2 separate regions of the Homo sapiens genome follow, and region 1 is linked to region 2. Evidence: promoter capture Hi-C in human tissues and cell types (Jung and others, 2019). All regions are on one chromosome and are shown on one strand. Each heading gives the region's core, a stretch centred on a gene start or on the middle of the fragment in contact. The rest is flanking DNA. Distances are from core to core; before and after follow the strand shown. Region 1 overlaps ALKBH8 (alkB homolog 8, tRNA methyltransferase). Region 2 holds the start of SLN (sarcolipin).

What was found. Contacts are between HindIII fragments. The study calls those that stand out against the background at their distance.
Region 1: a contact is called between a fragment that was not itself captured here and the fragment with the promoter of SLN in region 2, in 1 of the 25 tissues and cell types used here (IMR-90 fibroblasts).

Annotation. Positions count from the first base shown.
Region 1 is chr11:107,533,455-107,537,576 of GRCh38, reverse strand. The region is part of intron 7 of ALKBH8 (alkB homolog 8, tRNA methyltransferase); the gene reads left to right. Among named protein-coding and RNA genes, the nearest start is that of ALKBH8, 30 kb to the left of the region's middle. The HindIII fragment of the contact is 5,066 bases long and covers 1-4,122 here.
Region 2 is chr11:107,709,236-107,713,944 of GRCh38, reverse strand. SLN (sarcolipin) reads left to right here and starts at 1,889. Exons shown (of 2, transcript NM_003063.3): 1 at 1,889-1,982. The HindIII fragment of the contact is 6,706 bases long and covers 1-4,709 here.

The DNA of each region.
Region 1 (4,122 bases), core at 627-3,126, 180 kb after region 2:
TCCCTTCCCCCACCACCCCCTCCAACAGGCCCCAGTGTGTGATGTTCCCCCTCAATGTGTCCATGTGTTCTCATCATTCAGGTACCACTTATAAGTGAGAACATGTGGTATTTGGTTTTCTGTTCCTGTGCTAGTTTGCTGAAGATAGTGGCTTCCAACTCCATCTGTGTCCCTGCAAAGGACATGATCTCATTCCTTTTTATGGCTGCATAGTATTCCATGGTGTATATGTACCACATGTTCTTGTTCTAGTCTATCATTGATGGGCATTTACATTGATTCCATGTCTTTGCTATTGGGAATCACCAAACTTAAACAATTTGTATTTTGTACTTGTACATTCATTTGTGATCATTTTTACCAGAATAGTGGAAACACTGCACAAAACTAACCCAACAATAACCATTTTTGTTTCACTTCTTGATTTGTGCACCTTCTGCTAACATTGTCTGTCTTCTAGAAGGACTGGAAGGAAATGGAATTATGAATTTTCAGGAGTCTGGCTCCAGGCTGAAACCCTATGTGATTTTTCAGGCCTCACCATAGGTGATGACAAAGGCTTTACCTGGTGGCCTCATGGGGGAAAAAGCTGCCCTCCTCATAGTAGACTTGATGCACAGCCAGTGCATTACAGTCTAAGTGGAGTTGTAATGAAGGGGTCAAACGTCCCTGGCTGGTTATGCTCTTATGCCTATTTGCATTCCTAGCCTAGACACCTTCATTCCTCGAACTCTTTATCTGAGGTCTTTGGCTGACGTCCTCTTCAGGCACCTCTGCCGAGGCCTTTTTGTGGAGGAGGGAGTTGGAAACCTCAAAGACATTTTCCTTACTCTGACTTGGTACTAGCTACTTTTCAATTCCTAGTCTTTCCCACTCACCCTTCCCCTTACCGCTGAGTTTATAACACTGCTGGAACCTTTCATTCAGGGTTCCCTCAGCAGTGAGACAATCCCCACATTCAAGATGATCCACCTCAACCTCAAGTCATGCAGTGTTCAGTGGAGAAAAATGGGACTGGGGGGAGTTGGTGCTTCCTCTGGTTTTAGACCTTTGTTTATGCTATTATATCACAATAAGTGATCAACTTTCATTTTTGGCTTATTGCATTAATCCACTACTCTGAGCTCTTTCTTTCAGCCTTCAGGTTGTCCTGTCATTCCGTATTCTTCTACATCATCATTTTCACTGTTAAGCAGTTGGCTAACACAGGGAAGTAACATGAATAAGAAAGGATATGATGGTGGGGTTCCTTGTGTTACTTTAGACAAGTTAAATTTAATTGAGTTTAATTATGCAATGAATGATTGATAAATCAGGCAATGCCCTGAACCAGAATAGGTTCAGAGAGACTCCAGTGCTGCCGAGTGGTTGGAGAGAATTTATGGACAGAAAAAGTAAAGTGACATATAGAAAACAGAAGTGAGGTACAGAAACACCTGGATTAGTTACAGCTTGGCGTTTGCCTTATGTGGACATGGTTTGAACAGATGGCCACCTTTATTGTGTGAAACTCAGTGATTGGTAAAATAGTAGGTAGCAGTCTGTTTAGACATCCAGTTAGATTACAGTTCACTATGTATGAAGAACCTTTAGGCTGAACTTATAAGGAGGCAACTAACTTTAGGCTAAATTTAATTTAACACTTGATTGCTTGTGTTTCTTAGAACACCATTGTCTTCTTTCTACATTTGAAGCAAGTTCTGGAGGACCCTCTAGGCTGTCAGTGTACCCTCACTCACTCAGTGGTAGACATAAAGTGCTTACTGTGTACTCTGAGTCTCGGTGAACTCTCACACTTTCTGTGTTCATGGGACATTGTGGACACATTACCCAAATGGGCCTCAAGGAACTGTGGACAAGCATATTGCGTGCATCTCCTTGCTTAAGCCCATACTCCATTGTTACATCAGACTTCATTTAACACAAGTTCAAAGATAAAGTTAAGAATTTCAATCAGTGAGAAAAAAACAAACAATCATATCAAAAAATGGGCTAAGGACATGAATAGACAATTCTTAAAAGACAATATACAAGTGGACAACAAGCATGTGAAAAAATGTTCAACATCACTAATTATCAGGGAAATGCAAATCAAAACCACAATGCAATGCCACCTTACTCCTGGGAGAATGACCATAATAAAAAAATTTAAAAAATAAAAGATGTTAGCAGGGATGTGGTAAAAAAGGGAACACTTTTACACTATTGGTCAGAATGTAAAGTAGTACAACCACTTTGGAAAACAATGTGGAGATTCCTTGAAGAACTAAAAGTAGATCTGCCATTTGATCCAGCAGACCCACTCCCAGGTATCTACCCAGAGGAAAAGAAGTTATTGTACAAAAAAGATAATTGCACACACGCTTATAGCAGCACCATTTGCAATTTGCAAAAATATGGAACCAGCCCAAATGCCCATCAATCAACGAGTGGATAAAGAAAATGTGGTATATATAGACAATGGAATACTACTCAGCCATAAAAAGGAACAAAATAATGACATTCGCAGCAACCTGGATGGAACTGGAGACTATTATTCTAAGTGAAATAACTCAGGAATGGAAAACCAAACATTGTATGTTCTCACTCATAAGTGGGAGCTAAGCTATGAGGATGCAAAGGCATAAGAATGATACATTGGACTTTGGGGACTTTGGGGAAAAGTTGCGGGGGTGAGGGGTAAAGGACTACACATTGGGTACAGTGTACACTGCTCGGGTGATGGGTGCACCAAAAATCTCAGAAATCACCACTAAAGAACTTATCCATATAACCAAACACCACCTGTTCCCCAAAAACCTATTGAGAAAAAAAAAAAAGATGAGGAATGGTCAATTTGATACAGAAAAAGAAAAACATTTAGCTTATTTGGTTGTATATTTTTCCTCCTTGAAACTTGGCTTGTATATGCCAGGACAGGTGTTTCAAAATTAACTAATATCATGTTCATATATCTCTTGTGAGTTCTAATCACTTGTTTAAGCTGAAATTTTCCTATTTGAAAATCACTACTGTCCGTTGATGGGAGGGAATAAGTTTGAATTTCACAAATACGTATGTATTGTGCCTTTGTAAAACATGTTCAATATTAGCCAAAAAGTGTAACTTCTAGGTGGATATAGAGCTTGTCTCTCTTCACTCTTGTAGCCTTTGATATCTCACCAAACGATTAATAAAATTTGTCTAACAAATTAGAGTCTAGTCTTCTAGAATATTTTCCCATCATGACAGTTTTCATCTGGATATCTGGGCATGGATTTCCTTTAAGCCACAGATAATTGTCTCTAATAATAAATATGCTCATTATTCTTTCGAGGTGTGGGCCTTGGCTTCTATTAACAAAACTGAAACCTATATAAATTGGTTTAAAAAGAGGCCACTGTGGTTTTCCCATTTCCCCCCAACAATTTATTATGAATTTATTTATTTATTTATTTATTTTTTGGTGAGACGGTGTCTCGCTCTGTTTCCCAGGCTGGAGTGTAGTGGCGTGAACTCAGCTCCCTGCAACCTCCGCCTCCTGGGTTCAAGTAATTCCCCTGCCTCAGCCTCCTGAGTAGCTGAGATTACAGGTGCCCACCACTATGCCCGGCTAATGTTTTGTATTTGTAGTAGAGACAGGGTTTCTCCATGTTGGCCAGGCTGGTCTCAAACTCCTGACCTCAAGTGGTCTGCCCACCTCGGCCTCCCAAAGTGCTGGGATTACAGGCATGAGCCACCACGCTCAGCCAATTATGAATATTTTCATACAGAAAAGTTGAAGAATTGTACAGTAAATACTTATATGTCTACTAGCTAGATTCTACAATTAATATTTTAATATACTTGCTTTACCAAATAATCTAACCATCTTCTCATCCCTTTATCTGTTTATTGGTCCATCTTTTATGTATACATTTTAAGAAGGTTGCAGGTATCAATACACTTCATCTCTAAAAACTTCAGAATTAATCTCCGGTGTTTCGAATGCTTTCAGGGTATGACTATATGAAATTATATGTAGACATCTGGAACAGATAACTGTTAGGAAATTAAACTCTATCACATGACTTTATTTTCCATACTTAGATTGGAAGGATAGGTTAGAAAGGAAGAAAACTACTTTAGCTCTGTATACTTTTT
Region 2 (4,709 bases), core at 640-3,139:
GAATTTGAGATTGTGCCTATGCAGCCTCAAACGGATGAATAAAAAGTAATGTAGGCCGGGCACCCGGTGGCTCACACCTATAATCCTAGCACTTTGGGAGGCTGAGGCGGTTGGATCACCTGAGGTCAGAAGCTCAAGGCCAGCCTGGCCAACATGGTGAAGCCCCATCTCTACTAAAAATACAAAAATTAGCCAGGCATAGTGGTGCATGCCTGTAATCCCAGCTACCCAGGAGGCTGAGGCAGGAGAATCGCTCGAACCCGGGAGGCGGAGGTTGCAGTGAGCTGAGATCACGCCACTGCACTCCAGCCTGGGTGACAAGAGCAAAACTCCATCTCAAAAGAAAAAAAAAGTAAAGTAAAGTTTTGTTTTTTTCCCCTTTGGGTGGTGAGATTAAAAGTAATTTAAAAGTTTTAAATACTTTAATATATTTTCACATGTCCTACAATAAATATATAACTTTTTTAATTTGACAAAAAATAATTTTGAGTGGTTACAAAAAGGGACAGGTGTGGCTTGGTAACTAGAAAAACATTCCCAGCCTGGGAAACAATCTAGTGAGAGCTTGGAGGCAGAAGACAGAACTCTGATTACATTCAAGGAGTTTGCCAGATGGCAACAGATAACTGCCAATGTTCGGTTGCACTATAATTATTATACACTCTCTGTCACTTCAGCAAGCGCTCTTTTCACAAGACAAGTGGTGACAGAATGTTGTATTAAGATTACCCGTTGCTAAGCTTATGTTAAAATGAGGAAATGAAATGGAAAGTCTTGTTTTGGTAATGTCTCTGGGGTATGAGGAATGGAGGGAAAGGTTTGACTATGAGCATAACTGCATAGAGAATTTTGTTTGTTTATGCCTTTTGGGAATGCATTATTTTGATTGACCCTAATTGGGAATTCAGAGGGGGAGATTTCCTCTATTATCTATAAAGAAAGGATCTGCTGAGCAAACACAATTGCTAGGGTCATGTTTAAAGTACTTAATTGATCTGCTTTCAAGTCTAATTTAACACTTCAGGGGCTCCAAACATGTGATACATTGGTTACAAACTCATCTTAGTCTAATTTTAGTTAGTGTTCATATTAGAAAGTTATATAATACTTTTCTTTCTTTCAGATATATTCTATAATTCACATTTTTCACTAATTTTACCCAGTTCTCCTTCCACTCCCAATCTATCCAAATAACTGAGTTGAACTGTGTGAGTTTACTGCTCTATTAATTTATTGCCAGAGATATACAAACCATGACTTCCTCGGCTGTTTCAGATGAAACTGTAGATCCACGTGTAAACTTGCAATGCACAGCTTAGCTGGAAAGTTACGTGGAGCAGGTGACGGAGGGGATAGCTTTCACTGCTTGGACTAAAGTCAGTTTTGAAAGAGCTAAAGATGCCTATTGAATTCTGGAGTGTGTGTGTGTGTGTATGGGTGTGCATATGTGTGGGTGTAAGGCAGCAAACTCTTCACATTTCAAATAACTAAAGATATGGGTGGTAAAATGAAGTCACATTTTTACACCTCACAGGCTGACTAGGGAGAGCAGTCAAATGCAGCATCGATTGGTTAAAATTAGTCTATCATTCTTGGTTTATGATGTTTTAAAGACATGTTAAAGTTATTCATGAAGATGTAAAAGACACATTTAAAACCCACATCAATTGCACTAAAAGTCAACTGGAAACAGAAGGTTTTTAAATCCTGGTGGTGGCAAATTGGCAGCCAAAGGAACAAAGTCTTAGTCAACATATTTCCATGTCCCCCGAACACAAATAGCCTCGAACCTTCGGAGGGTGTTCCTTTGAGATGTTTCATCAGTGACATCACAGTGATTGCCAGCTTCCACGGACTACTTTAGGCGCTGCCCAGAGTCCAGGAGTCCAGACAGCCTGGGAGGGGAGAAGGAGTTGGAGCTCAAGTTGGAGACAGCGAGGAGAAACCTGCCATAGCCAGGGTGTGTCTTTGATCCTCTTCAGGTAACTGCAGGATTTTTATGCTTAGCATACGGTGTGTGTGTGTGTACAAGCTGCAAATGAGAAAGGCAGAGGAATGTTTGCATTTCTTAATGAAATAGGCAATGCCCCTTGGATACAGCATGCCTTAAGATATAAAGTGAGTACTATTGCTTTCTGTTTTCCTTTTTTTTTCTCCTAAGGGTATGCATTTTCTCCCTTCCTAGTAAAAAAAAATTTTTTTTCTTTCTTGTATTATGGAAGATGGTCTTTTTTCTATCTTCTCTAAGTCTCCATTCAAAGAAAGCCAATGTCAAACTTCCTGCACAATTTATTCAGAGCTTTTTGGGTTTTAGTTCATCCATTTGCAATCACTGGATCATATGGCATGACCTTGACTTCAGGGAATGTTTAAAATGAAACCCAAAGTGTCTTTATTGGTTAAAAGCAGAAAAATGGAACTTGGCTGATCTGAATTTCTGCCTAACTGGTTCATTCTTCCTAAAGTGTATAAATGTGTGTGAAAGGAATGTTCACACCACACCTTACAGTTAGCATATGTGTTGATTGAATTGAATTCACTAGAAATTCTCACCTTAACTCTTCATGTTTTATTCATCTAAAATCACATAAAACAACAAATATTCAAGGTCACCATTAAAGTGCAAGAAGTAGTAAGAGGTAAATCCCAAGAAAGAAAGAAGTGTGATGGGTAGCCTGCTAATTCAGAAATGACTGAAAAAAAAAAAGTTAAGAGTGCATAAACATACACAGTTTAAACAATAACTGAAAGGCAACACTTCTATAATTATCATCCAGGTCAAGAAACAGATCATTGCCAGCACCCAGAAGCCCATTCTTGATCAACCCCCATTCTGCCCCAAGATGTTGGGATCCTCTTGTCCCTGTTATTCTTTATAATTTGACCATCTATGTCTGCATGCCTAAACAATATGATTAACCTCCCTATTTTTGACATCATATAAATGGAGTCATATTCTCTGTTTCTTTTGTAAATTCTTCTTTCACCCAACAATTATATTTGTGAGATCTACCCATTTTCTGTGTAGCTATAGTTCATATATTTTCTTTGCTTTATGAAATTCAAATGTATAACTATACCACAATTTATCATCCATTCTGCTGTTGATAAACATTTGAGTTGTTTCCAGTTTGGAGTTATTGTGATAATATTGCTGTGAACTCTTTATTTATGTAACCTGGCACGCACGTCCTTGACTGTCTTAAGGTAGAAGTGAAATGCCAGATATTAGAGAATGAACATTTTCAACATTAATTCTAAGAAAGCTAAATTGTTTTCCAAAGTGGTTGAAAATTTATGCTAACTTTGTTTAGCCAGGCCAGTTAATTGCAGTGACAATTCACTTGTGTCATAACTCCTAGGAATTCTAGTAACTAGTTCCAGTCTGCTAATTCTAGCTTTGCCTCTAACTTGTTATCTGTCATTACACAAACATCTTAATCTCCTCTCTCTAAAAGTCAGTTTCTCAGCTGTAATCTTGAGAAAGATAAAAACTGCAGTAACACTTGCCTGAGTTGTTGCGAAGGTAACACAAACAGAGCTGTGGAACAGCTTTCAATAGTATTTTTCTCATTTTCTGAGTATATCCTGTTGGATCACTATCCATGATTCCCATGACTTAACAGCTTAATTTAATAGGCAGATTTGGTGGGACCGTTGTTTTGCTCTCCTTGAATTGTTTTGACCATTATAAGCCAGGCTTCATATTTTCTGCTTATCTCTGCATTTCTTGAGAACTTACCCAAATAGATGGACATTTGGACTATGGTTTTATTTCATTGATAAGTTTATAAGAAAGAGTCTGTCTTCGTTTCTCATTCCTTTGCCTCCAGGCACCTTGGCAAGACTCATTACCGTTCTGTTCTCCTCTGCTCTTTTGTACATTCTCATAAATCCTTTTTCCTTGATCCATTCATTTTATTCTGTTTACTTTCTCCTCCATGCAAATCTTTGTAAAGATTTTCTATTTTTTCCCCTTTTTATTTTCTTGGAGAGACAGGGTCTTGCTGTGTTATCCAGGCTGGTCTTGAACTCCTAGGCTCAAGTGATCCTCCCACTCCAGCCTCCCAAAGGGCTGGGATTAGAGGCATGAGCCACCACGCCCAGCCATTTGTAATGGTTTTCATTGGCAATTTACTATTTCCTTCATGCTGAGGTCTAAAAGATGGATAATAATTAAAAGGGAGATGAAATATAAATCTGTCATCATTTGGCTATATATCTACTGGTTGGCACCATCTGATTTGAACTTGTATTTTTTTTTGAGACAGGGTCTCATTATGTTGCCTAAGCTGGTCTTAAACTCCTAGGCTCAAGGGATCCTCCCACCTCAGCTTCCCAATTAGCTAGGACTACAGGTACCGACTGCCATGCCTGGCTGAACCTGTATGTTATGCCAATTACACAATATGAAAAATGATCATTCAGTTGGCATTTATGCAATTAACAATTTGGTCCATTGATAATATAATCAATACAGTAATTACAATTAATAATTCAGTCATGCTAGATAGTTTAAAAATACCACTCAGACCAAAAGCTTGCTAACAACCCTTTCAGCCTCTTGAACTCTCACCTTTAGCAAACACACAAAATACCCTTTCTCCCTAAACTTTCACTCTACAGTAGACTTTGGTCCTAAATGTCTAAAACATAGATATCGAATTATCTAAAATATATAAATCTTTAATTTCATTTAGGCTGCATAA